Regions from separate parts of the Homo sapiens genome. Here regions 1, 3 and 4 are each linked to region 2. The links are contacts of gene promoters, found by promoter capture Hi-C in blood cells and fetal thymus (Javierre and others, 2016). All regions are on one chromosome and are shown on one strand. The core of a region is centred on a gene start or on the middle of the fragment in contact, and the rest is flanking DNA. Distances in the headings are between cores, read along the strand shown.

Region 1 (6,967 bases), core at 2,726-5,225, 460 kb before region 2:
CAGTTCTGGATATATTTTCAGTAGAAAGAGTGTCTTTCTTTTTGTGTTCAGATGAGAACTGTGGGGAAAAAAAAACCTCACTGAACATATATAAAGCTGAAAGCAACTGGGAAAAGGTTTTTCTAGATTCCTGGACACCTTAAAAATAATAACAAAACATCCAGGTGAAGGGAGGGTTGGAGGACACTGGAAATGACGAGAGATGTGGAAATGTGCTGGTTTCGTGTGACCTGTCAGTAACTCCCCCACCCCACTCCCATGCATACTCAATGACCACGTGTTTGGGACTATGGATAAAGGGAGCTAGTTACATTTTCAGAAAAAATGCCTTTCATTCATGTTACTTGTTATGCCTTTCATCAAGAAAGCCATTCACTTATTTATTTTGTATTCATTCATTAATTTATTCACCAATTTACTTACCGTTTGTTTGAATGGCCTCCATGTGTTGGATGGAAGTCAAAGTATTTTACCTCTGCTATTGAGCATAATTTAATCTGCGTCTTCCCTTTTGTGAAATCGTCCTTACCCTTAAAGGTTCCAATCAAGAGCACCTCCTTCATGCAGTCTTCCTTTCTTTTACACTCCGGTTCTTATCAATCTTCATTTTCTCTAACTATCCACGACATATGTTCATTCATCCAAACATAGTGAAGGGACGCTTACAATGTGCATTGTGCTGGAGGGGGGAATATCATGTGAATTAAGACAATCACAGTTCCTGACCTCATGAATGTTATTGTTATTATTATTATTATTATTGTTATTGTTGTTGTTATTTAGAGACAGGGTCTTGCTCTTTCACCCTGCTGGAGTGCAGTGGCATGATCACAGCTCACTGCAGTCTTGACCTCCTGGGCTCAAGTGATCCTCCCCTTTAAGCCTCCTGAGTAGCTGGGACTACAGGTATGCACCAGCACACCTGGCTAATTTGTATATTTTTTGTAGAGATGGGGTCTCGCCATATTGCCCAGGCTGGTCTTGAACTCCTAGGCTTAAGCAATCCTCCTGCCTTGGCCTCCCAAAGTGCTGGGATTACAGGCGTGAGCCACTGCACCCGGCAACCTCATGGATTTTAAAGTGTAATGGTGGCAGCAATCAGTTAAATAAATACTTATACTATGGTATATTAAATGCTATAATATAGGAGGATAGGAAGTTGTGGGAACAGGGAGAGAGGTCCTGATGGGTGATGTTTAAGCTAAGACTTGAAGGATAGGCAGTAGTCAGCCTGCCAGGCTGTGTGCAAATATTCCACGCAGAGGGAAGTACATGAATAGACATGAGAGAGAGGAAGAGGCATGCTGGGAAAAGACGCATTTCAGTTCTGCAGGACATGGTATAAACTTCCCAGGACACATAGAGGACCAGGAGGAAGGAGATTGGTAAGACACGAGACCCTAGCGGTAAGCGGAGGCCCAGTCCCAAGTGGCCTTTAACACCATTGTAAGGAATGTGGACTTTATCTGGAGGTGAAGCTGTTGAAATGTTTCAAGCATGCAAGTGGCATAATTAGGTTTGTGTCTTGGAAAGTGGCTCTACTTGTGGTGTAGAATGGATTGGGTGAAGCCTTGCAAGTGAAGGTTGTCTTAAATGGAAATCACCTACTTTTGTGCTCAATTGTATGCTGTCTTCTCCCTTCTTTGTTCTATGTGTATTGGCCTTTACTCTAGCTAGATCACAGGCATCTTCAGACAGGAACCATGTTTTATCCTTCTGTGCACAAATGATAGTAGATGCTCAGTAGATATTTGCAGTAGTTTGATTTTATGTTTATGTTGCTCCCTTTTCAGTGTGCCATTTCAACATCTCTGGCTATGCAATAGCCCTTCAGTGGGCAATAAAGAGAGGGAGACCTTTTTCTGGGTGAGTCCCATAAAAACAATCTCTGAACCTCAGTTTACCAAGACGAAAATCCACTCTTTGCCTTTTTGCTTTGTTAATTCTCAAGAGAGAAGAGCTGTGATTTGTACCACAGACAATTTCCAACATTCAAAGTCGAAGTACGTTTCCCAAAAGGCTGGGCAAATTCCAGTTGTAGAGTTAGACAGAAAGAGAGTGTTGGTGTTGTTTGCAAGGCCACGGAGGTACAGACTGGTGGTTAATTCCCTCGTACTTCTCTGGAAAAGTAGCTCCCCTCCACCACCCACCAGGCACATTCCTCAACATCCACCAGGGAATCTGACCCCGTTAGCACTTAATATTTATGACCAACATTTGCTGGTGATTATATTAACAGTCAAATGATTATAATTCTAAATGCAATTTGTGTGTGTGTGCATGTGTGTGTGCACACTTGCATCAGGGGGAGGTTGGTATTCTTGCAGCAAATATATTGTCTCCTTTAAATTGTATCCGCATAATACCAAATTGGAAATTGCGCTAATGTACTTATTAAAGAATATAGAGGCAAAGAATGTAGTCCCAGGAAAGGGTGTGTTACAGGTGAGGAAATTGAAGGCAAGAAAGAGTCTTTGTTTTGGGCCATGCAGAGACAGCAGAGTTGGAACTAAAACTAGGTATCTCGACTCCCAATTCAGTGCTCTCTCCACAGTGCCCCAGGGCTTTTCCTCTATGTGTTTATTGCCTTCACACAGTGCTTGTCTGAAAGCCAGGCTTGGTGTTTTTATGTTTATCCAGACATTTCGTCTTGCCCCCATTTCCTTGCCATCTCTTTGGGCATTGGAGGCTACTGTCCCCCTGTGGGGGTTGCAGGTAGCACCCATGTTCTGTGGTTTTTCCCTCCTGCAATCACTTGGCCAGGAGCTCAGACCCCAGGCATCCACATTTTAGTTTTGGGAGGACAAGGATATTTGTTTCCTTCACTAATTCTTTAAGCTTTCTCTCTAGCTTCCCTGACTACCTCCTCCTCCACTCTCTCGAGCAACTTGGGTCACCTGTATTAACTTCTGTCCATCTTCACATTAGCTGTGGTGCCCAATCTTTATTTGTTTATTATTTTTTGGAGATGGAGTCTTGCTCTGTCACCCAGGTCAGAGTGCAGTAGAGCGATCTCGGCTCATTGCAACCTCTACCTCCCAGGCTCAAGCAGTTCTTGTGCCTCAGCCTCCCCAGTAGCTGGGATTACAGGTGTGTACCAACACGCCTGGCTAACTTTTTTATTTTAGTAGTGATGGGGTTTCGCCATGTTGCCCAAACTGGTCTCAAACTCCTGAGCTCAGGCAATCCACCCGCCTCAGCCTCCCACAATGCTGAGATTACAGGCATGAGCCACTGCACCAGGCTGATGTCCAATCTTTATTCATTAATTTGTCACTTTCACAAATTTTGCCATAGCCATATCCAGACTGTACTCAATGTTATGTTTTTTTCTTTAGATCACCTAATTGGTTTCTTAAACTTGAATACATTTGTTTTAAAACTTTATATGATTACTGTAAATGGAAAACCAATATCATTGGCCAACAGGGAAGGTAATGATTAAAACATGCAAACAGTGTTATTAAATTCTATCTAGATTCACTTGTTTGCTGAAGGCTCTAATGTTGAGTCATGCCCTCTTTTTGTTAAAAAGGATGATTAGCAAATGGTGGAGAGGTTGCAAAGGCTGATTCTCTCATTGATTTAATCAGAATGATTAGAAGGAAACCGACATGATACTTTTCCTACCATATGAATCTGTGGGTACTGCCTACAATCTGACGGTCCCACTCTTGGGTTCATCTTGATCCACAGAATTGTGTTATTCCAAGGAGGCTCTGACCACAGGTGCAACATGATCTCATCCAACTGCACCTACTTTTCCTACGTCTCTCTGCTGCAATGGTGCTGGCAGATCACTGCAGACCAATGTAGGTTGTGTAGTTGCCATCCCCATTTAAAGCTCTCACTTGTACTGGTGCCAAGGATGATGACCTATTTAGATAAGTGTGACCTGAATAAAAGTTGATCTATGATCCCGTGTTCTTGATCAGCACAGAGTTTATTTTTGATGACAGGAGAAAGCATAGGCTATAAACATTTCCTATCACACTCCAAACTCATTTTCTACTGTAGAAAATGAGAAATAGACAGTACTTCCCTTTTCCTTTTCTATTATATCACATGTTCCCTAAACGTCTTCTAGGCACTGGACATTGAAATATACAACTTGGCTGCTTACTTATTTCCAGGAGTCTGACTGTTTCTATTTGGCATGGAGTAAGTCTGGGCTGCCGTGCACTGAAAAGGGCTTGGGAAATGATATGGATTTGGGTTGGCAAGAGGCAAATGGCCTGGCTTAGTATTGTAGTCCCTTGGTATTGTAGTCTCTGTGAAAGGTACCCCTGGGGTTGTGCAGGGCATGGTCAGTGTGGTTGCATGTGGTGGTCTTCAAGGGTAAAGGATGGATGCTGAAGTCTTCTAGTGGAAGCCTGTGAATGCCTTTATTGAATTCAGTTTACCAATCATCTGTTCAAACCTCTCCTAATTCTCAGGAGTTTTTCTAGGAGGTAGGGGAAAGCAAATTTGGAGGAAGATGAGCCCTTGGCCCTCAAGAAACTTACATCCTGGTAATATGCACCATGACTCATGAAGAGTATGTGTCAGGTTCAAATCTTAGCTGTGCCACCTATTAACAGTGTGACACTGGACAAGCTACTTAACCTTTCTGGGCCCCAGTCGTTACTTACTTAAAGGACAACATAGAGGACCTTTGTGAAAATTAAATGATAAAATGATGCCTCGCACAGAGTGAGTGCACGATAAACATTAACTCTTATTATTGCTGAGAGAACAACTTTGAAGTGAAAAGAGAAATCCCTCCAAGGTGTCTGATACTCCAGTCACTAACAGTGTCATACAGATTGTAAACCCAATGCTAAAGGAGTTCAAATCAAGGAAAATGTCACCAAGGACTGGTGATAGGGAAACATATGTCAGAATGTCCCTACATTTCTAGCATGCTTCGTTTCTCCCTCAGTTTGTAAAATTATATTCCATTTATGGTTCCAGAAAACATAAACAGGATTCATGACTAGAAGAAGAAAAATTGGAAGGATACTAGTGTGTCCTTCTCGCTGAATTATTTATTGTTGTGTGCTGAGGAACAGAATGATTGCTTCTTGCCCCACTGTAGATGGATTGAATTTCTTTCTGTCCCCATGCAGTCAGGCAAGCTTATTTTAATAAGAACAACTTAATATTGTAACTATACAGTGAAGTTCTCTTGTCCCTCTAGGACACACCACACTGTACACTCTGAGCTTGGAAGGCTGTTCTGATTATTTCGGGTGTGGAAACTGAGTTACCCTCCCTAGGATGGTTTCTGTGAATGTCTTAGAATTGACAAGTAAATTCAATCAGCATTTTCTTTTCTTTTTTTCTTGTTTTGTGTTTGTCAAGTGCCAGATACCATGCTAGACACCTTCAGGGCTATGATTACATTGAATCCTCAAAATAATCTCATGAGCTAGGCTTTCTTATTATAAGCATATTTAAGAGGTAAGAAAGTTGGAGAGAGGTTAAGTAACTTGTCCAGGGTCGCCAAGGTAGCATGTGTTAGCAAACAAGATTTCAGTCCAGATTCTCTCACCCCCTACCCATTTCTAGCAATGCAGTGCTGCTGGAGACAGCACTTGTTGGCAGCTACCTGTCTGCTTTCCTCCTCTTCTTCTCCTCCTCTTCCCTCTTTCTCTCTTCCCTTCCCTTGCTTCCTCTTCAGTCCCTTCTCTTCCTTTCCTTCCTTCTTTCTCTCTTTCCTTCCTTTTCTCCCTCCCTCCCTTCCTTCTTCCCTTCCTTCCTTCATTCCTTTTTCTCTCCCTCTTTCCTTCCTTCCTTTTTTGTAATTTTATTTTTCTGCAGAATACTGTTTCTCAGTGGTTAATGACAGGTACAGAATAAAGTAACAGTGACATTGGATAAAACTAATGAAATCATCAAATTTGCACTTTTTTTTTTTGAGACCGAGTTTTGCTCTTGTCATCCCCGAGGCTGGAGTGCAGTAGCGAGATCTTGGCTCACTGCAACCTCCACCTCCTGGGTTCAGGTGATTCTCCTGCCTCAGCCTCCCAAGTAGCTGGTGCTACAGGCGCCCACCACCATACCTGGCTAATTTTTCTATTTTTAGTAGAGACAAGGTTTCACCGTGTTGGCCAGGCTGGTCTCAAACTCCTGACCTCAGGTGATCTGCTCGCCTCAGCCTCCCAAAGTGCTGGGATTACAGGCGTGAGCCACCGTGTCTGGCCTGCACTCTTAATTATTTAACTAAATGGGGATAAAAGGAACTTCAGTCCCTATCCCGTGCTGACGTATGGTAGGCATCAGAATATGCTTTCTAGACCTTATCCCAGCAAGCACTCCCTGGTGCTGGGTGTCATCTGTCCCCAGGACAGACAGGGAAGGGAGTCCTAGAGAGTCCTGTGACTTGCCCATTGGCTGCAAAGCTGCAGCAAGAGGAGGACAGAGCAGCCTGACTCCAAATCTTATCTTCTTTTGGCTGCAGTATTTTCTGAATTAGACATTAGCATTAGCCAAAATTTGGATTATAGGAGATAGGTATTTAAGGAGAGGCTTAGGGGAGTTTGTCCAATGGCAAAAATGATCAGATACAGCCTTAGGATCTGATACCTGGTTCCTGGATCTGCTATCACTGGTACCTGGAGCTGATCCGGACAATGGAGACAATGGAAAGATCAGTGAGCACATCTCAGACCAGAGCCCCACACTGAGTTGTGCGGCCTGATCAGTGAGAGCTGGTGCAGCCAGCCCGCCTTGTTGGCCGTCCACAGCAGCAGCCTCCCTTTCCACTGACCTCCCATCTACCCTCATACGGATAAGATTCTGTTTACTTTCCAACCTAAATGATTGTGGTTCTGGGAGCTGTTAAGAAGCCAACATGTTCCAGGCTCCCATGTTAATAGCATGGGGATTAAAACTAACCAAACAAGCATGCATTTGACAATAAATGAGGCTATTGGAAGTGAGTAGTGAGTACAGAAGGGAGCATGTGTTTCTTGCTTGTTTATTG
Region 2 (7,028 bases), core at 4,283-6,782:
GATCTACACTCTGCGCCCGTCTGCCCGCGAGGCCTCCCAGCTGCGAGCGCTCAGTCCTGAAAGTTAGTCCCGGGAACGCGGCGCGCCAAGGCGGGGCTGGAGCACCTGCGGGCTCTCCAGGAAGGCCTGGGAAAAGGCGGCTCTTACCTACACATCACTTCGTGCGTCAGGAGAACTCGGCACATTTCCGGATTCTTATTCTGTCCCTCGTAAGCGATGGGCTGTGAAGGAGGTAGTGGCAGGAAAGGAAGATGTGGAGAGGGGTGGGGGGCAAGGAAAGAAGGGACTTCAGAACAAGCACAACATCGCTTTCCCTCCCACTACCTGCCACCGCATTAGGAATTCCCGCCCGCAGCACATTCTGCGCGGTTGCCGAGTTTGGACTCGACTGAAATCATAGAGAAGTTTGCCCCAGTGAGAACATCATTCTTAGCAAAATGGAATGTTTGCGGGAACTGAATCTCCCAATAATTGTTTCCTCTCCATCCTTTTTGTTCGCCTCTTACTGCCCCCAGGGTTTCCCTGAGCCAGACAAAACAGGTCACTTGGTGAGACAGGGAAGAAAAAAAAAAAAAAATCTTCCCTAGCAGACAAGGTGCTGGGAGGGGGACGTGGAGGGGGCTGTGGAGTCTGACCCAGGAAATCGTGGAGGAGGGGCAGGTCAGAAACAAACTGGGGGGTTTGGGGGTCGGGGTCAGAGACAGGCGAAGAGAAGCCAAGTGGCCTCCGGCTCACCTGCTTGGTGACCGAGTCGATGAGCCTGACATAGAGGTCCTGTTCCGTGCGGACACCTGCGGGGACCGGAGGGGCACGAGTCAAGGGCCGTAGAGCCCCTTCCGGGCACCCCAAACCCTTCTCTGCCATGGGTCTGAGGCCCAAGCAGCCTCTCCATGCTGAGCCGCCCTGGAGACGGTGACCTCCCAATCCCCTGTCCCAGGCAAGCCTCCCGCCGCCCTGGGCTCCATGCGATCCCTGAGAGTGATCATGGCAAGGTCAGCGCGTGCGGCCCGGAAGCCGGCTGCTAGGCGCCGGCTCACCGTTGCTGTAGAAGAGCTCACCGTTGCTGTAGAGGAGCTGTAACTTGTAGTGAGTGCCGTTGTTGGTCTTCTCGTTGCCTTGTTCCTGAAAAGACAGGCAGCGTTCGATTCCCTTGCCTTTCAGCCCCCCAAAATGAGGGAAAGAGGAGACAGTGAATCCCCACCTCACATCCCTTCTCCCCATCAAAAGGCAGCTTTGAGTAACCCCCTGTTCAGCCCTAGGTCAAAGGGCATGAGCATCTGCCTGTCCTTGGCCGCCCCCGGAAACTTGCCAAGACTCGTAGCCACTTGACCCTTTCCAGCCCTCTGTCTCCCTTAAAAATGTCCTCAGAAGTGTGACCCTTGAGCTTCCGACAACAGGACCACTTGCCAAAGCTGCCTTTAAACAGGCACCACCCAACCCATCGGGCTCTGTCTGTCCTTAGGAAGCCCCAAGGCTTCCCTTGGCAGAAAAGTGAAGGGACTTGTCATTTGGAAAGGCAGCATTCGGGCCTATCCCGCGAGGACTGCGCACGCAGGGCCACGAGCTCAGGGACTGAGTTCCAGGTTCAGGAGGGACTTTGGGAAGTGCCTACTCTAAAGCTCACATTGTACAGCTGGGGACACGGAGACCCGGAAAGGGCAAGGGATTTTCCTTTGGTCACACATAGGTTTCGGCGGACTGTCCTTCATTTGAGACCGAACCCAGCCCCCAATTCCAGGCTTGAGTTTGGAGGAGGCGCTGCCTTGGAGAACAGAACAGGAGAGAAGACACGGCCAGAAGGCAGGCCAAGGCTGGGCTGCCGGTTTCCACTTAGTGCCGCAACTCAGGCCACCTGGCTCTCGCAGGTGCAAAATAATTAAAATTAACCCAGAGAAGGGGAGCGGCGGCCTTGGGTGTACTTTTTAACTAGTCCAAGGGGCGTTTGCTCCGCCGTCAGTCCATAACCAGGCGCTACTAAGGCCTCCAGGCTCGGTGCGCAGAGCCGGGAGCGCTCCTCCAGCTCCAGGTTGGGGGAGTCGGGGTGGGAGGAGGTTCGGGAAATCGACTGATTTAGAGGCTGGGGGTGAGTAGCCTCGATTTATCATCCCTGATGGTGAGAGTGGAAAAGTGTCGCGAGAGTGACAGATGGAATCTTTAGTGCTTCGCAAGAGGGAGTTATTAGGCCGCGGGGTTTGGGGGGTACTTTCCGCTTACTTTGTCATTCTCCACAAAGTCCACGAAGGCCGTCCGCTCGATCTCCACCGGCTGGCCCTGCCTGTCATAGAGCGCCAGGACGAAGTGAAAGAAGTTGGATTTCCTCAAGTTGGAAGGAGGCTGTTTCTCAAAGTGGGCCCGGGACAGGGCGACCCCGCTGCACAGGGAGAAAAACGGGGGAACACAAGACACGGGGAAGCACAAAAAGGCGATGTTACTAACCGCCCACAACACTGCAGAGGGGTAAGGGGTCCACTTCCCAGGTCCAGAGTTCTGAACCCTTCGGGCCTTTTTTCCAATTCGGATAAGGAAGAGGAGACTCCTTAAAGGAGTCACCGTGGCCACGGGGGTTGGGTGGCAGGGTTGATACCTGGGGTCTCTGACACCACCAAGTGGTCCGGCATCCCACCGCTGGGCCACTCACCATCCCGTCTTTAGTCGAAACCGAAAGACCCCGGCTGCAGACAGAGGCCCAGAGTGGTCCCCTAAGGAGGTGGCCCGCGTCCTATACCGTGGGGCTGTCTCCATCCACTCCCTCAGGTGGTACTGCTGGGTGTATCAGGATGCAGAGCTGGGGCCCAGGGTTAGGGGAATAAGTGCCTCCTTTGCTTTGGAAGAAGCGACCCTTTTATTTAGTATTAATTCGAGTTATCAGTCCTGGACCCACTGCTCACAACGCCCAAATGCTGACTGGGAAAGGTAGTGGGTAAGAACCCCAAGGGGCAGGCGGGAGAGTAACACAGAGTCCAGGTCTGGGTCCTTGGGCTGCTTGCCTCGCTCTTCCGAAAAGTTGTGCCTGGGACAGAGACAGGGCGGAATCCTCGCGACCAGCCCCGGGGATCGCTGGCCACCACAAATGAGATGACCGACATAGGGGGCCCTCCCTCCCAGAGGTGCTAGGTGGGGAAAAGCCAAACTGTTAAAAGGCGAGAACCTCCTTTCCTGGGGCCAACGCGATCCCCACTCATGCTGCGTTTTCTGGCGGCGCCAGCCGAACCCAGTGACTGTGAAACCCAAGTTGGGGGACCCGGAAGGCGCCCTCGAGCGTGCTGAGTGTGTGCACACGCTTCCCAGCCAACCGGTCGCAGTCACAGCCCACCTGGCCATCAGATCCCATTTCACCGAAGACTTGGGGCTGAGGTGAACGCACAGATTGCGGGAGCTGCCCTGCGGCGCTGGGGTCTCCCAGGTTGAACCCCGGTGCGCAAGCACCTTCATTCACTCTTTTGAAAGGGGTAACATTTTGGCTAAGCTCTCCCCCACTAAGTCTGCTCCTTCCAGCTTCAACAAACTTTTTGATCCCGGGAAGGAAGGAAAGCGAGGGAGGCGTCTTTAAGGAGCCCAGCTAAGGAAATGCGCGGCACAGTTGGCTCTGCGGTGCTGCCTTATTTCCCTTAGCTCGCAGGCGGGCCAGTCCCGAAGCGCTGCGGAAAGCCGCGGCCGCCGCGCTGTGCGGTCTGCCGGAGGGAAATCCGCGCTCCCCGGGCCACAGGAGGGAGGGAACCGCCGCCGGCCCAAGTCCCGGAGCGATAAAACTTCTGCTTTCTCCGCTCCAAGGGTAGAGGCCGGTTCGCTCTACCCGGGACACCTGGCCAGTTTGGGAAAGGGATCATTTCTCCGTGTGATGTTGGCACTTAAATGTGGGTGGCCAGGAGGGCAGCAGGGGAAGCGAGGGTAGTGGAAGAAGTTCATCGGCTCTTTGGGGGTAGAAGGGCTGCCTCTCTCGCAGACAAGGACCTGGAGGCCACAAATCCCAACTCAGTAGTGGTGATGAGAGAGTGGGACCGTAATGTCTTCGTAGGGTGGCACCCCGGACATGGTATTTACTATCCCAGCACGCAGACGCCTAAACACAAAGTCAACTTCAGGGATCCGCAAAACCAGAGGCTGGCGATCCCTGAGCCAGTCTAGCTGCTGGTGGCCTTTTCTCGCCTCTTTCTTCTTCCGCAACTCTTTCTACTGTGACTCAGTATTTTCTCTTCTTTTAAATCTCTTCTTTTCTCCAGTTCCCTAGCTCCGTTCGTCTGGCTCACTGTTTTATCTTTGAGCCGGGACCCTCCAGCCTGTCCCCCCTCCCAGAGCTCCCGGCCGCCTCGTCTTCCCGGGCAGCCGCTCCGGCTTTTCCCGCTCCCCTCGCCGCCGCCACCCTCTGGCCGCCGGCCTCCCAGGCTCCAGGAATCGCCCAGCAAGATGCGGGAGGTAGGCGCTCGCAGGCGGCGTGGCGAAGCCAAGAGTGGCCAGGAAGCCGGCTTTCCTCCCGCGCCGCCACTGCCAGCGCCGGTGTTCACGCTCCGTTCGGGGCCAGGCCGGCTCGGCTTGCAGGACTAGGGGCTGAGCTGGGAGATGTTGGGGGCTACTTTATTTTTCCTTGCAAAGAGTGGACTGTGGTAAAGGAGAGGGAGAGAAACGCCTACGACCCAGGCAGTTCAGGAACTCGAGTGCCGGCTGCCGGGTGAGCGTTCGCCTGACTGCAGCGATCTGCTTGCCCGAGGGCGAGCCCCAGCGCGCAGGGCCTGGGCGACAGATGGGGGGACAGGGAGAGAGAAAGGCACGGGGTGCGCGGGGGGGGTGCACACGGAGAGACAGACCGTAAGAGCGAGAGACAGCATAATAATTGCGCGGCCGTGTCGTTACCTCTGCGCGGCGACATTAGCGTCCACCACTCCGACATTCCGGACCCAGGACCTGACCGAATCCATCTCCGCGCCCAGCGATTTCTCTTTCAGAGTTGGTCCTCTTCCTAAAGTATCTTGAATTCCAAACATTTAAAAAGTCTGATCCTCTACTGTCGCTTTAAAAGTAAGAGTTACAACACAGTCCTGACTGTTCCCAACGTTGCCAGCAAATCGTCTCCTCCAAAGCAATCCAAGAAAAGGGATCAAGTGCCCAAGTTTGAGTCTTAGAAAAAAAAAAAAGATAACCCGTCCTTTGCTTCACTGGCGAGGTGCGGACTGATGTAGTCAAAGTTTGGGTTCTTATCCTCCGCAAGTTCAGATCTGCCGCCTCAGCCACTCCACCCTAGGTCGCTCGCATCCTTCCAGCTGCAGTGCTGCCTCCTGAAAGTGATCACAATTTAGAAGCATCACCTGTTCTGGGAGAAACTGGAGGAAATTGATGGCTGCCTAATCTCTCCCCTTCCTCCAGGTCCCCCCTCCCTGCTCCTCCCCACCGTTCCAATTTAGAAAAAAAAAAAATCCCCAACAGGATCAGTTGTAAAAAGAAGGGGAAGACCTGGAGCCGAGAGGAGGCGGTGGCTGCGAGCGCCACGGAGCCCGGCTGCAGCCGCGCGCGGGCCCCATGAATGGGTTACTACGGCCCTGGCTGCGGGAGGCGGAGCTGCGGCCCGATAAGGAGCCTCATTTGCATGGACGCGCGGGATTGGCCGGCGCCTGGCAAGCCGGGCCGACGTCCTCCGGCGGCGCGCGCCACGCTCTGCGTTGCCGGGACTCCGGGAGGTGAAAGGGGACAGAAAGCTGCGGGCGTCGAGTCCTAGCACGAACCCCGTGTGCTTGCGCAGGATTGGGGGGCCCCCACACCCTGCACTGACTTAGGGTAGCAGGTCTCTGCGGGCTGGGGACGCAGGGGTTCGGCCTGGCTGCGGGAAGCCTCCCTGGATCCTGCCTCTAGATGTAGGCTTTTGTAGCCTGCCGGGAGGCACGTTCGTTCCCGGGGTTCGGATCTGTGTGCATGCTTGTGAGCGTGGCCACATGTGCTTATGTTTTGCGCAAACGTCCCCCAGAGCACCCAGCTCCCTGAATGGCTCCCCAGGTCTCCTGGAGTTCCATGGTGATATCAGATGTTGTGTGCGGCTTGCACGTTGCTGAGAGTGGAGAACATATGAAAGAAGGCGGGGGATGGGGTGGGGCGGACAAGCGAGGGGCAAGTGCTGCTCAAATACAGTGCTGGGGAAAACGGTCCAGGACCTAAGGAAAACACCCGCGGGCGGGCGGGCGCGAGCGGCAGTCGCACCCGTGTGGAGGAGAGGTTGCTGACAGATCGAGGCGGGCTGAGTGCGCGAGCGGCCGGGGAGTATTCCCGCGGGTCCTCCGGTTCCCTCCCCACCTCTCCGTTCCCGAAGCCCCCGGTAGTGGGCGGGGAGGGACGGGGGAGTCGTGGAAACTTCGCCCACCGCGCGCGGTCGCCGCGGTGCTGGCCGCGGGCTGGTGGCCGGCAGGCGGTGGCAGCAGCCTCACCGAACAGCTGAAACCCTAGACGGTTTTTTAACTGCGCGGGGCTGCTCGCGGTGCCTATTAAACATCCTCCTGGCTGGGTGTCATTTTCTTGCTTCTCCTTTTGTATTCTGATCTGCGCATAGATCTGCTGCTGCTGAAATCTAGAACACCAGCGCGAAAACAGATTTGAAGACAATGAATGCAAATCTGTGCTCAAAGACCATCTGCCGTGGAGGAGACAATCAGCTGTTCGTAGTTCGAGCGATTGCGCCCCAGTCTCCCGGTCTCATTACGGGGAGGGCATTTGCGAGCGCCTGGACTGCGTTCAGGGCACTTTCTCCCCTCTTGGGTCTCAGATTTGAGAGACCAGATCCCTTAGGTGTAGGTGAGCGCTCGCAAATGAACTGCTAGAGTTTGCCGCTAGAGGACACAGCGCCTTGCAACTGGTTTGCCTAGGCTGACAGGAAGCTTGCACTTCAAGAAAACTCGGCTCTCTCGAGAAAGGGACCGGTGCGCGCCTCCACCTCCCCAAGGGACAAACCGCGGCACCACGCTGCGTGCGCGGGATTGCGACTAGGAAGTGCTGGTCCGAACTGCGGAGATTCGCTTGAAAACGGATAGGGGGTTAGGGAGTTTGCGGGG
Region 3 (6,838 bases), core at 2,316-4,815, 480 kb before region 2:
GACTGAGTAAAGCAGGCTCCTCCACCACACTTGGCCACAGTGTCTTGGAGTGGTTCCCATCTGCGAAGAGGAAGGCCTGGGAGAGACACTGACCTGTTGTCCAGAGTCTGATAAGAGGACAGGATTGAGGTCATATTTCAGACAACTCAAGGGAGTTAGGATGGGGACTAGGGTTGTTACAAACGATGAGGAGAATTTTGGAGCCCCCAGCAGATATTTACCAGCTGTATCTTCAAAGAAGAATTAATCTTGGTCTTTGCTGTTTTTTCTCTGTCTGGCTTTGCAAACCTAAAAAGAGACATCATGTATCTTCTTCAGAATATATTCTTGGAATGGTAGATGAGGAGAATTAGGAAATAATAGCCCAAGTTAAATCAGATGTATAATTATAAAATCACAGCTCTAGGGTCTAAGGGTCCTTGAAGATTCTCTAGTTAACGCACACTGGTTCATGCATTTCAACTGTAACGTTACAGATAGCCCTCTCTTTTGGAGCACCTAAACAGCAGGGAATTCAGAATGTCCTAAAGTAGCCCAGGCCGGTATTGGACAGTTCTAATTCTTAGAGATTGCTGTAAGAAATCTGATTACCTGTAGATTTCACCTATTGATGTTTGCTTTGTCTCATAGAATAGTGCCAATCCATCCTCACATGCCAGACCTAAAATGTGTGGATAACTATTATAATCTTTTCAAAGTTAAAATGTAAACTTTTCAACTTTTGTTTTATTTAATTGGCTTCAAGCCTCTTAACTATGCTAGCCACCCTTCTCCAAGGAAATTTCAATTTGTTAATGGACTCATTATTTCTGATAGGGGAGCTTAAGATCACACTGGATTTTGCACAAGCTACTACTGTTCCACTGCTTTTTTATTACTGGTATTCAAACCCAACAAACTTTGTCATATACCACAGGGTCCTTAGTCTCAAGGCCTTAAGGCACAAAGCACCGTTGGCTGAGACCTTTATTTTTATTATTATTTTATTGTGTTGTACTTTTTAAAGAGATGGGATCTTGCTCTATGGCACAGGCTGGAGTGCAGTGGTGCACTCATGGCTCACTGCAGTCTCCAGCTCCTCAGCTCAAGCAATCCTTTCAGCCTCTGAGTAGCTGGGATCACAGGCATAAGCCACCATGCCCAGCTGCTGAAACCTTTAGTTGACCACAGAGATCAAGCTGAGTGCCAGGCCAGTTCTTGAAATTTGCATATTGATGGAGCTGAAGAGGGCTTCTGTCCTCAGTGACCATCTTGGGTTTGTCGTGGGAATCTGCAATATCCTCTGTCCAACAGGCTCAGCTTGATCTCTGATGTCACCTAAAGGTTTCAGTCACCAGGCACAATGGCTCATACCTGTAGTCCCAGCACTTTGGGAAGCCAAAGCGGGAGGATTGCTTGAGCCCAGGAGTGCAAAACCAGCCTGGGCAACTTAGTGCGACACTGTCTCTACAAAAAAAATTTTTTTAAAATTAGCCAGGTGTGGTTGTGCACACCTGTAGTCTGAGGAGGCTGAAGTGTGAGAATCCCTTCAGCCCAAGAGTTGGAGGCTACATGAGCTATTATCACACCACTGCACTCACAACAGAGTGAGACCCCATCACCAAACAAAACCAAAAGAATTGGCCTTGTGGCTTCCTCACTGAGAAGGGGAGCGAAGTGCTGCAGGCTGTAACTATGGGTTGAGACTTGGAAGCTTCTTCATGGGGAGCAGGGTGCCAAGACAAGGGATGGAGGAGTCATTCTGGGGGCGAGTCCTAACAAGAGCCCAGGGATGAGATAAGAGGCATTGTGCATGTTATGCTGACCACAAAACAAGACCGGCCAAGAAGAGACTGGAAGGCACATTGTTTCTGGTGGCCTGATCACAGAAAATGGTGGAAATCTGGTTTTTAATCACTCAGGAGAGTTTTTTCTGGCTTCACCCTATCTGGTCTTTCAAGGAGCTGAAGGGGTATTTGTCATTGTGAACTAGGGCAGATCCTTGCATTGCAAATTTATGAATGTTGGCCCATCTCAGATTGTTTGAGCAGATTTGAGGCCTGAAATCTGTTATCTATCCCTCCTAGTTTCCTGTCATCCGCTGATTTAATGAACATATCGTCATTGTCCTCATGTAAGTCACTGCAAATGTTTCACGGAGGAGGCCAAGGACAGATAGTTCTATGGCATGATATAAAAACCTCCCTTCAGGTTGACAGTCATTTATTAATCAAACTCTTTGAGGAGAGCCATCCAAGTGCTTGCTAATGTATCTAATGGTACCAGCATTGAGCTCAAATTTCTGAATCTGGTCCAGAAGGATCTAATGAGAAAGTGTCCAACGCCTTGCCGAGGGGTAACTTATTATGTTTTGCAATTCTATGTGCCAAAAGCAGAGTGGAGGTTAGACTGGCATGATTTATTCTTAGTTAACCCATTCTGACTCTTGGTGATCACTGTTTTCCTTTCAAAATATATCAACAATCCATTCCTTTAGTCCACTGCTCTTTAGTTTATAGAATCTTTTTTTTTCACCTTTTCTTGAAAAGTGGGAACATATTTAATCCTCTCCAGCCTACAGAGACTTCCCTCATTCTCCACAGTTGTTCAGAAAGTATCTGTAGCATTTCACTTTTCATTATTTCTTCAAGACCTTGGTAGTATAATTGGTTTATTTATTTATTTATTTATTTATTTTTGAGACAGGATCTTATTCTGTCACCTAGACTGGAGTACAGTGGTGCCATCATGGCTCACTGCAGCCTTGACCTCCCAGGCTCAGGTGATCCTCCCACCTCAGCTTTCCTGGTAGCTGGGACTATAGGAACTCCCCACCATGCCCAACTAATTATTTTGTATTTTTTTGTAGAGACAGGGTTTCACCATGTTGCCCAGGCTGGTCTCGAACTCCTGGGCTCAAGTGATCCACCTGTCTTGGCCTCCCCAAGTGTTGGGATTACAGGCATGAGCCACTGAGCCTGGCCTTTGGTATAATTGGTGTAGATATGGAGATCTGAACTCATTGAGAGCAATAACAACCAACTTTGGCTTTTCTCTTACAATGTTTGTATTATCTTTCCTAATATGAAGATCAATTGCCTTGAGATAAGATAGAAAGAAAAAAAATAAACTGGAGCTGAGTAGTTCTATTTTCATCTATGATCAATTAATATTCAGTCTCTTCCCCAAGCATAAGACTTCCTTAGTCTTCTTGCACTTGATATACCTTTAAACTCCCATCTGCTTCTTGGTTATCAGTGGTACTTATCTAGGCTAAAACCCAGAAAAGTGCTAATACAGTTTTTATAGATGACTGACATGGAGTTCTTTTTTGTTTTTTAAATAATTGTTTTAATTTATTCCAGAACCACCTAGTCATGGTGAAACCTAACTTTATTAAGCTCCTGATTTTGGAGACCTACAATATCCTGCCTTCTGTATAGAAGAAGTATAGCCTTTCTACCGCTGCCTCCATCGTTTGCTTAAACTAATGTGAGTGAGTCTCCTTTATAATAATCAAATGGGCCTAACCAGAACCACCAGCAACCTTCATGCTTTGTTGCTTTGGGCTTCTGAGACTGTCCCTTTTAAGGTAGTCTTCGTGTTTGGTTTAGGCACTCTTTGTAGAGGATCCTTCATTCTCCCAAAAAAACTGCTGTTTGAAAACCAACATGGGCCAGTATTTCCCAGATCCCTTTGGTAACCACTGTCATGATCGTGCCCAACAAAATGCTGGCACTTGTGGGTGCTCCAAATGCTTGCTTGAATGAAGCAATGATTGAAGAGAAGTCTCTAGCCCCTGAAAATGCTCTCAAAAAGCCAAAGGAAAGCTCCATGGGGTTAGCAGAAAAAAGAAAGGGAGAGAGAAAGAGAAATTCTACACAATCATGAATTTCTTTCCCCTTCGTCTTTCTTTCTCTGCTTCCGTGTCAGAGAGAGACTTAGAGGTGTGCTGGAACACAAGTCACAGAAGAAGGAAGTAGAGAAGGAAGGGGAAAGGTAAGAAAAAAAGGAAACGGACATTGTCATATAAGAGGGGGAGTCATGGCATTTCAAACCTAGAAGGGACTCAAGCATCCATTTAGCCTAACTTCTTCATGTCACTGATGAAATATGAGCATTTGGTTTGGCATTTAATACAAATCTGCTGAAAAAAAAAAGTGAAGAAATTGAGGTCGAAAGACGTAGGTTAAACAATTTGTCTAAAGTTACAAAGCTAGTGAGTGTCAGAGTGAGGGCTAGAAGCCAGCCCACCTATCCAGTAATCTCCCACCACTTGGCTCTCAGGGTGGCCGAGGAGGGGACAGAAGAGAGGGGTCAGGATGAGAGGGGAATGGCGGGGTGGGCGGATGGCAGACTAAGTGGGAGGAGAAAAACTAAATTTGCACGTCGGCTGTTGGCCTCCCTTGTGACTTGCTTTTCTCCAAGCAGAAGAAAGTTTACAGCCACCTCACCTACTCAATCTGAACTTCACGGTTTCCCCATCCCGCCAGAGTGCTCTAGTTGGCTGGAGGCCTGGTCGAGACTGCCCTGTGACACAACTAGCTAGCTGCACAACCAGGGCAAAATACTGCTGGATTAACCCATGCTAATGGGTTACCTTTATTTAGTAATCATGGGTCCCTCATAAGCATGGTCCAGATCCGAACTGTTTTTGGAAAGATCTTGGACTTTCTAGAATTTCACCTACCCTGGAGTATGAAAACACACTGAAACAGAACTGGATAAGGATTTTAAACAGAACTTGCAAGTGAGATCATCATGTCCCCACCACCACTACCCTGCTGCCTCCTGACCCAAGATGATGAAGAACTGCAGCAGATTTTTAAAAAATGTTCCACATTCCCTTTGCTTCTCATCTCTAGAAAACTCTCCAGATCAAGAACTTTGGCCTTGGAGTATGGAGTTGGAGGTCATGCAGACCTGATTTCAAACGCAAGCTGTCACATGGTTGCGTTACAGTGGGGAGGGGACTTACCATCTTGAAGACAATTTAGATAGTAATAGCAACATGGAAAGACTGTGAAGACACTTATGATTTTGTGGGACCACAGTGCCTGGGAAACATCACGTGATTCATACATGTTGATTACATGTGTTGCTTGAATGAGGCCCTGTGGGCTTGAATCCTAACACCCTCACTCTCCAGCAGTGTGAACTTGGAGCAAGTTACTTGATTTTCTTTTATTTTTAATTAATTATTATTATTTTTTAGAGATGGAGTCTCACTCTGTTGCCCCGGCTGGAGGGCAGTGACGTGATCATAGCTCTCTACAACCTCAAACTCCTGGGCTCAAGCAATCCTCCCGCCTCAGCCTCCTGAGCAGCTAGGACTAAAAGCCTGCACCCCCATGCCCAGCTAATTTTTAAAGCTAATTTTATAGAGATGGTGTCTCACTATGTTCTCCAGGCTGATCTCCAACTGCTGGCCTCAAGTGATCCTCCTGCCTTGGCCCTTCAAAGCTTTAGGATTACAGGCATGGCCACTGTGCCTGGCCTTACTTGATTTCTTTATATGTTGGTTTTCTTACCTGTAATAAGGATATCTAATTGCAGATATCTTATGGAGATACTAATAGTGACTGCCTCATAGATGTGAGGATAAATGGAAATAATGCACATGCAATGCTTAGCACAGAAGCTAACAGATGATCAACCTTAGCTCTCGTGATTATTTCCTCATGTCATGTGATTTCTTGATGAACGCCTTGGTGTCTTGGGGGGCACCAAACAAGCTGGTTTAAAGTCCGTGTTCAAAACATCTGCCAAGGGCAGCCTGGCACCACGCTTGGGATAAATGTCTTCACTCCAACACAGCCTCATCTGGGCTAAGGGAGTCAAGCATCAGGTTTTATGGGTCTGACGAAGATGTTTGAAATATTGTAGGAGACTGTCAAGGAATACTTATACCCACTCTGAAAAAGGGCCGTTCTTAATTTTCATCTTTCCTGTAAGTCAGAAAGATATATACTCTCCAAATAATGGCAGTTTCCTTGTCCTGAAGTTATGGCAGCTTGGTGATACAATAAACAGCACCCTGTCATAAGGACCACATAAAACATGGTCTGACATTTCTTTAAAAGTAAAAAGAAACACAACCGCAGCAGATGACCTTTCCTCCGAGGGCACAGCTGTTTTGTGTGGTTAGAGGGACCCGCAGTCTCATATTTGGGGGCTACGATATACGACTGGCTTTTCACAAAGTGTTTCCATGAGAAACTACAGTACGTTCCAAAGGGGAGCACCAATTCACATCAGGCAGGGAGGATTTTTTTCCCCTCTTGATGTTTTCCAAATGATATTTGTGCTGAATATTTGCTATTAGAAACTTCTTTGGTGCATGAAGTGTGAGTGGTATCGAGAATACCAAGGTGTCTTTTGCTTCCTGGTGGAGTTTGATGGTGGGCTTTCTACCGGGTTGGTGAGCCAGCACCTTCGTGGACTTATGAGGAGTCACTCAAGCAGTGGTGCTTCTGTGGGTCAGGACTGGAAGTTTCTGGGGGAAAATTTAAACTAGTCCCTTTGTTAGAGATGGTAGGCGATTTCCATTTCATCTAAAAATGTTTATTCCTTTTGTTGAATATTATTTGTGCAATGTGCTAAAATGAACATTTAATAAATCTAAAAAATGTCTAGTTGTACATATGTTAGTGAGACTGGATGTTTTCTTCTTTTCCTTGTTCTCCAAATTATCTTTAACATGTTTTTATTTACATCCTAATAAAAATGAAATTAAAAAGGAGTGTTACATCTCCATTTAATTTTCTGATTGAGTTATCCTGGACATCAGTGGTAACTGAAAACATTCCTATTAAAGCACTAGATCCCCTCCCCTCAAAACCTCTATCCTCTAAATTAG
Region 4 (7,193 bases), core at 4,652-7,151, 430 kb before region 2:
TATATGCCCAGTAATGGGATGGCTGTGTCAAATGGTATTTCTAGTTCTAGATCCCTGAGGAATCGCCACACTGTCTTCCACAATGGTTGAACTAGTTTACAGTCCCACCAATAGTGTAAAAGTATTCCTGTTTCTCCACATCCTCTCCAGTACCTGTTCTTTCCTGACTTTTTAATGATCGCCATTCTAACTGGTGTGAGATGGTATCTCATTGTGGTTTTGATTTGCATTTCTCTGATGGCCAGTGATGATGAGCATTTTTTCATGTGTTTTCTGGCTGCATAAATGTCTTCTTTTGAGAAGTGTCTGTTCATATCCTTCGTCCACTTTTTGATGGGGTTGTTTGTTTTTTTCTTGTAAATTTGTTTGTGTTCATTGTAGATTCTGGATATTAGCCCTTTGTCAGATGAGTAGGTTGCAAAAATGTTCTCCCATTCTGTAGGTTGCCTGTTCACTCTGATGGTAGTTTCTTCTGCTGTGCAGAAGCTCTTTAGTTTAATTAGATCCCATTTGTCAATATTGGCTTTTGTTGCCATTGCTTTTGGTGTTTTAGTCATGAAGTCCTTGCACATGCCTATGGCCTGAATGGTATTTCCTAGCTATTCCTCTAGGGTTTTTATGGTTTTAGGTCTAACATTTAATTCTTAAATCCATCTTGAATTAATTTTTGTATAAGGTATAAGGCAGGGATCCAGTTTCAGCTTTCTACATATGGCTAGCCAGTTTTCCCAGCACCATTTATTAAATAGGGAACCCTTTCCCCATTTCTTGTTTTTGTCAGGTTTGTCAAAGATCAGATGTTTGTAGATGTATGGTATTATTTCCGAGGGCTCTATTCTGTTCCATTGGTCTATATCTCTGTTTTGGTACAAGTACCATGCTGTTTTGGTTACTGTAGCCTTGTAGCATAGTTTGAAGTCAGGTAGCGTGATGCCTCCAGCTTTGTTCTTTTGGCTTAGGATTGTCTTGGCAATGCAGGCTCTTTTTTGGTTCCATATGAACTTTAAAGTAGTTTTTTCCAATTCTGTGAAGAAAGTCATTGGTAGCTTGATGGGGATGGCAGTGAATCTATAAATTACCTTGGGCAGTATGGCCATTTTCACAATATTAATTCTTCCTATCCACGAGCATGGAATCTTCTTCCATTTGTTTGTGTCCTCTTTTGTTTTGTTGAGCAGTGGTTTGTAGTTCTCCTTGAAGAGGTCCTTCACATCCCTTGTAAGTTTGATTCCTGGGTATTTTATTCTCTTTGAAGCAATTGTGAATTGGAATTCACTTATGATTTGGCTCTCTGTTTGCCTGTTATTGGTGTATATGAATGGTTGTGATTTTTGCACATTGATTTTGTGTCCTGAGACTTTGCTTAAGTTGCTTATTAGCTTACGGAGATTTTGGGGTGAGAAGATTGGGTTTTCTAAATATATAATCATGTCATCTGCAAACAAGGACAATTTGACTTTTTCTTTTCCTAATTGAATACCCTTTATTTCTTTCTCTTGCCTGATTGCCCTGGCCAGAACTTCCAACACTATGTTGAATAGGAGTGATGAGAGAGGGCATCCCTGTCTTGTGCCAGTTTTCAAAGGAATGCTTCCAGTTTTTGCCCATTCAGTATGATATCGGCTGTGGGTTTGTCATAAATAGCTCTTATTATTTTGTGATACGTCCCATCAATACCTAGTTTTTTGAGAGTTTTTAGCATGAAGGGCTGTTGAATTTTGTCAAAGGCCTTTTCTGCATCTATTGAGATAATCATTTGGTTTTTGTCTTTGGTTCTGTTTATATGCTGGATTACATTTATTGATTTGCATATGTTGAACCAGCCTTGCATCCCAGGGATGAAGCCAACTTTATCGTGGTGGATAAGCTTTTTGATGTGCTGCTGGATTCGGTTTGCCAGTATTGAGGATTTTTGCATCGATGTTCATCAGGGATATTGGTCTAAAATTCTCTTTTTTTGTTGTGTCTCTGCCAGGCTTTGGTATCAGGATGATGTTGGCCTCAGAAAGTAAATTAGGGAGGATTCCCTCTTTTTCTATTGATTGGAATAGTTTCAGAAGGAATGGTACCAGCTCCTCTTTGTACCTGTGGTAGAATTCAACTGTAAATCTGCCTGGTCCTGGACAGTTTTTGGTTGGTAGGCTATTAATTATTGCCTCAATTTCAGAACCTGTTATTGGTCTATTCCTGGTTTAGTTTTGGGAGGGTGTATGCATCCAGGAATTTATCCATTTCTTCTAGATTTTCTAGTTTATTTGCATAGAGGTGTTTATAGTATTCTCTGATGGTAGTTTGTATTTCCGTGGGATCGGTGGTGATATCCCCTTTATCATTTTTTATTGCATCTATTTGATTCTTCTCTCTCTTCTTCTTTATTAGTCTTGCTAGCAGTGTATCAATTTTGTTGATCTTTTCAAAAAAACAGCTCCTGGATTCATAGATTTTTTGAAGGGTTTTTTGTGTCTCTATCTCCTTCAGTTCTGCTCTGATCTTAGTTATTTCTTGGCTTCTGCTAGCTTTTGAATGTGTTTGCTCTTGCTTCTCTAGTTCTTTTCATTGTGATGTTAGGGTGTCAATTTTAGACCTTTCCTGCTTTCTCTTGTGGGCATTTAGTGCTATAAATTTCCCTCTACACACTGCTTTAAATGTGTCCCAGAGATTCTGGTATGTTGTGTCTTTGTTCTTGTTGGTTTCAAAGAACATCTTTATTTCTGCCTTCATTTCGTTATGTACCCAGCAGTCATTCAGGAGCGAGTTGTTCAGTTCTATGTAGTTGAGTGGTTGTGAGTGAGTTTCTTAATCCTGAGTTCTAGTTTGATTGCACTGCGGTCTGAGAAACAGTTTGTTATGATTTCTGTTCTTTTACATTTGCTGAGGAGTGCTTTACTTCCAACTATGTGGTCAATTTTGGAATAGGTGTGATGTGGTGCTGAGAAGAATGTATATTCTGTTGATTTGGGGTGGAGAGTTCTGTAGATGTCTATTAGGTCCACTTGGTGCAGAGCTGAGTTCAATTCCTGGATATCCTTGTTAACTTTCTGTCTCGTTGATCTGTCTAATGTTGACAGTGGGGTGTTAAACCCACACATTATTATTGTGTGGGCATCTAAGTCTCTTTGTAGGTCTCTAAGGACTTGGTTTTTGAATCTGGGTGCTCCTGTATTGGGTGCATATATATTTAGGATAGTTAGCTCTCCTTGTTGAATCAATCCCTTTACCATTATGTAATGGCCTTCTTTGTCTCTTTGTTCTTTGTTGGTTTAAAGTCTGTTTTATCAGAGACTAGGATTGCAACCCCTGCTTTTTTTTTTCTTTTCCATTTGCTTTGTAGATCTTCCTCCATCCCTTTATTTTGAAACTATGTGTGTCTCTGCATGTGAGATGGGTCTCCTGAATACAGCACACTGATAGGTCTTGACTCTTTATCCAATTTGCCAGTCTGTGTCTTTTAATCGGAGGATTTAGCCCATTTACATTTAAGGTTAATATTGTTATGTGTGAATTTGATCCTGTCATTATGATGTTAGCTGGTTATTTTGCTCGTTAGTTGATGCGGTTTCTTCCTAGCCTCAATGATCTTTACAATTTGGCATATTTTTGCAGTGGCTGGTACTGGTTGTTCCTTTCCATGTTTAGTGCTTCCTTCAGGAGCTCTTTTAGGGCAGGCCTGGTGGTGACAAAATCTCTCAGCATTTGTTTGTCTATAAAGGATTTTATTTCTCCTTCACTTATGAAGGTTAATTTGGCTGGATATGAAATTCTGTGTTGAAAATTCTTTCCTTTAAGAATGTTGAATATTGGCCCCCACTCTCTACTGGCTTGTAGAGTTTCTGCCAAGAGATCTGCTGTTAGTCTGATGAGCTTCTGTTTGCAGGTAACCAACCTTTCTCTCTGGCTGCCCTTAACATTTTTTCCTCCATTTCAACTTTGGTGAATCTGACAATTATGTGTCTTGGAGTTGCTCTTCTCAAGGAGTATCTTTGTGGCATTCTCTGTGTTTCCTGAATTTGAATGTTGGCCTGCCTCACTAGGATGGGGAAGTTCTCCTGGATAATATCCTGAAGAGTGTTTGCCAACTTGGTTCCATTCTCTCCATCACTTTCAGGTACATCAATCAGACGTAGATTTGGTCTTTTCACATAGTCCCATATTTCTTGGAGTCTTTGTTCGTTTCTTTTTAGTCTTTTTTCTCTAAACTTCTCTTCTCGCTGCATTTCATTCATTTGATCTTCAATCACTGATACCCTTTCTTCCACTTGATCAAGTCAGCTATTGAAGCTTGTGCATGCATCACTTAGTTCTCGTGCCATGGTTTTCAGCTCCATAAGGTCATTTAAGGACTTCTCTACACTGTTTATTCCAGTTAGCCATCCGTCTAATCTTTTTTCAAGGTTTTTAGCTTCTTTGCGATGGGTTTGAACATCCTCCTTTAGCTCAGAGAAGTTTCTTATTAGTGATTGTCTGAAGCTTTCTTCTCTCAGCTGCTCAAAGTCATTCTCCATCCAGCTTTGTTCCACTGCTGGCGAGGAGCTGCATTCCTTTGGAGGAGAAGAGGTGCCCTGATTTTTAGAATTTTCAGCTTTTCTACTCTGGTTTCTCCCCATATTTGTGGTTTTATCTTCCTTTGGTCTTTGATGATGGTGACACCCAGATGGGGTTTTGGTGTGGATGTCCTTTCTGTTTGTTAGTTTTCCTTCTAACAGTCAGGATCCTCAGCTGCAGGTCTGTTGGTGTTTGCTGGAGGTCCACTCCAGACCCTGTTTGCCTGAGTGTCACCAGCGGAGGCTGCAGAACAGCAAATATTGCAGAAGGGCAGATGCTGCTGCCTGATCCTTTCTTTGGAAGCTTTATCTCAGTGGGGCACCCAGCTGTATGAGGTGTCAGTCGGCCCCTACTGGGAGGTGTCTCCAAGTTAGGCTACTCAGGGGTCAGCGATCCACTTCAGGAGGCAGTCTGTCTGCTCACAGATCTCAAACTCCGTGCTGGGAGAACCACTGCTCTCTTCAAACCTGCCAGACAGGGACGTTTAAGTCTGCAGAAGTTTCTGCTGCCTTTTGTTTAGCTGTGCCCTGCCCCCAGAGGTGGAGTCTACAGATGCAGGCAGACCTCCTTGAGCTGCAGTGGGCTCCACCCAGTTCGAGCTTATGGGCTGCTTTGTTTACCTACTCAAGCCTCAGCAATGGCGGACACCCCTCCCCGAGCCTCGCTGCCACCTTGCAGTTTGATCTCAGACTGCTGTGCTAGCAGTGAGTGAGGCTCCGTGGGCATGGGCCCCTCTGAGCCAGGTGTGGGATATAATCTCCCAGTGTGCCATTTGCTAAGGCCATTGGAAAAGCGCAGTATTAGGGTGGGAGTTCCCCGATTTTCCAGGTGGTGTCTGTCACGGCTTCCCTTTGCTAGGAAAGGGAATTCCCTGACCTCTTGTGCTTCCTGGGTGAGGCAATGCCCCACCCTGCTCCATGGGCTGCACCCACTGTCTGACAAGCCCCAGTGAGATGAACCTGGTACCTCAGTTGGAAATGCAGAAATCACCCATCTTCTGCATCACTCACACTGGGAGCTGCATACTGGAGCTGTCCCTATTCGGCCATCTTGGAACCTCTAATAGTTTATTCTTACTATTAAAATAACACACATTTAGAGATGCAGACTAGGAAGCTTCACAGAGACAAGAAGTTAGTAAAAATATGTGGGCCAAAATATTTTTGTGAGAACTCTGGAGACTACTTGAGAAGTCTAAGCACCCTGAGCTACATACAACAGGAAGGGATTTCAGATAAAGGGTTAAGGAAGTTCATAGCACTTTGTATGCTCATCTGTGCTCTGCCCCCATTTGACCTAATGCAACACAACTGGAAGGAAACTTCCCATGCCAGGGATCCTCTCTTTGAATGAAAACGAAGGAAAGGACCATGTGTACAGCAGTCTGGCTAGTCTGGGAGCTGCCTCAAGAATTGGTATCCATCTCAATTGGCTCAGAGGGCTGATTGAGTTTGTGACCTTGTTTGCAAGCTGCTGAAAACAGGTTCAATAATAGTGGCACATTTGAGCTGCAGTTCCACAGGCAGGTGCCAGAGGGAGCAAGAGATTTCAGGCTTCTGAAAAGAAGCAAGGACAAGCTGCAATGGGAATTTCACAGGACTAAAAAGCTTATGTACATGCCCAGAGAAGACACATTCTCAGAGTTTGAAAGATCCTAAAATAGACTCTAGCTGCGCTGATCAGTGAAGTCTTTTGCGTGAAGCCAGACCATAAAGTTTATGAAAAGTGGTTGTTGTTTTGAATGTCCATGTCTTAACAGCATCATCAGCACAACAAAAATCACAAGGCACACAAAGAAACAAAGATTTATGGTCCAATCAGAGGGCCAAAACAAAACTTCAGAAGCCAACCCTAAAGAAATGAAAACATATGGGCTTGCTGACAAAGAATTTAAAATAACTGTCATAAATATGCTCAATGAGCTAAAAGAGAATACAGATAGATGACTAAATGAAATCCAGTAAATGACACATGTATAAATTGAGACTATCAACAAAGAGAAACTATTTTAAGAACACCAAACAGAAATTCTGGTGCTAAAAACCATAATAAGTGACCTCAGAATATCACCAAAAAGGTTCAACAACAGACTTGATAACGCAGAAGAAGAAATCACTGAACTTGAAGACAGGTTATTTGAAATCCTCAAGTTAGAGGAACAAAAAGTAAAAAGAATGAAGAAAGTGAAGAGAACCCAAGGAACTTATGGGGAAGTATCAAGCAGCTCAATATACTTATTACAGAATTTCCAGAAGGAGAAGAGAAAGAAAAGGCCAGAGCTCTTAGCTGAAGAAATAATGGCCAAATGTCTCCCAAATTGAAGGATAAAATGGACATACAAATTTAAGAAGCTCAAAGATTCCAACAAGGATAAATCCCAAAAGACCCACACCTAGATATAATCAAACTGTGAAACATCAAAGACAAAGAGACAATCTTGAAACCAGCAAAAGAAAAGCAACCCATCACATCAAAGAGAACTTTGATAAGATTACTAGTGAATTTCTCAGCAGAAACTTTGACGGCTAGAGGAAGTAGGATGTTATACTCAGGGTGCTGAAAGAAAAAAGGAAAAGCAAAAATACACTCCAATAAACCTGTCAACTGAGAATATCGTGTCCAGCAAACTGTTCTTTAAAACTAAAAAAGAA

The links. The method cuts DNA at HindIII sites, captures the fragments that hold promoters and counts their contacts. A CHiCAGO score of 5 or more calls a contact.
Region 1: a contact is called between a fragment that was not itself captured here and the fragment with the promoter of EBF2 in region 2, in 1 of 17 cell types (endothelial precursors). The highest score is 5.1, in endothelial precursors.
Region 3: a contact is called between a fragment that was not itself captured here and the fragment with the promoter of EBF2 in region 2, in 1 of 17 cell types (endothelial precursors). The highest score is 5.0, in endothelial precursors.
Region 4: a fragment that was not itself captured here is called in contact with the fragment with the promoter of EBF2 in region 2 in 1 of 17 cell types (endothelial precursors); the score reaches 6.3 in endothelial precursors.

Annotation. Positions count from the first base shown.
Region 1 is chr8:25,585,949-25,592,915 of GRCh38, forward strand. No RefSeq gene overlaps it. Among named protein-coding and RNA genes, the nearest start is that of CDCA2, 130 kb to the left of the region's middle. The HindIII fragment of the contact is 2,279 bases long and covers 2,837-5,115 here.
Region 2 is chr8:26,039,881-26,046,908 of GRCh38, forward strand. EBF2 (EBF transcription factor 2) reads right to left here and starts at 5,533. Exons shown (of 16, transcript NM_022659.4): 1 at 4,849-5,533; 2 at 2,215-2,371; 3 at 1,059-1,122; 4 at 736-791; 5 at 148-221. The coding sequence starts at 4,979. RefSeq lists a silencer at 3,453-3,747. The HindIII fragment of the contact is 12,164 bases long and covers 1-6,852 here.
Region 3 is chr8:25,563,101-25,569,938 of GRCh38, forward strand. No RefSeq gene overlaps it. Among named protein-coding and RNA genes, the nearest start is that of CDCA2, 110 kb to the left of the region's middle. The HindIII fragment of the contact is 3,749 bases long and covers 1,692-5,440 here.
Region 4 is chr8:25,609,876-25,617,068 of GRCh38, forward strand. No RefSeq gene overlaps it. Among named protein-coding and RNA genes, the nearest start is that of CDCA2, 150 kb to the left of the region's middle. RefSeq lists an enhancer at 4,705-5,206. The HindIII fragment of the contact is 491 bases long and covers 5,657-6,147 here.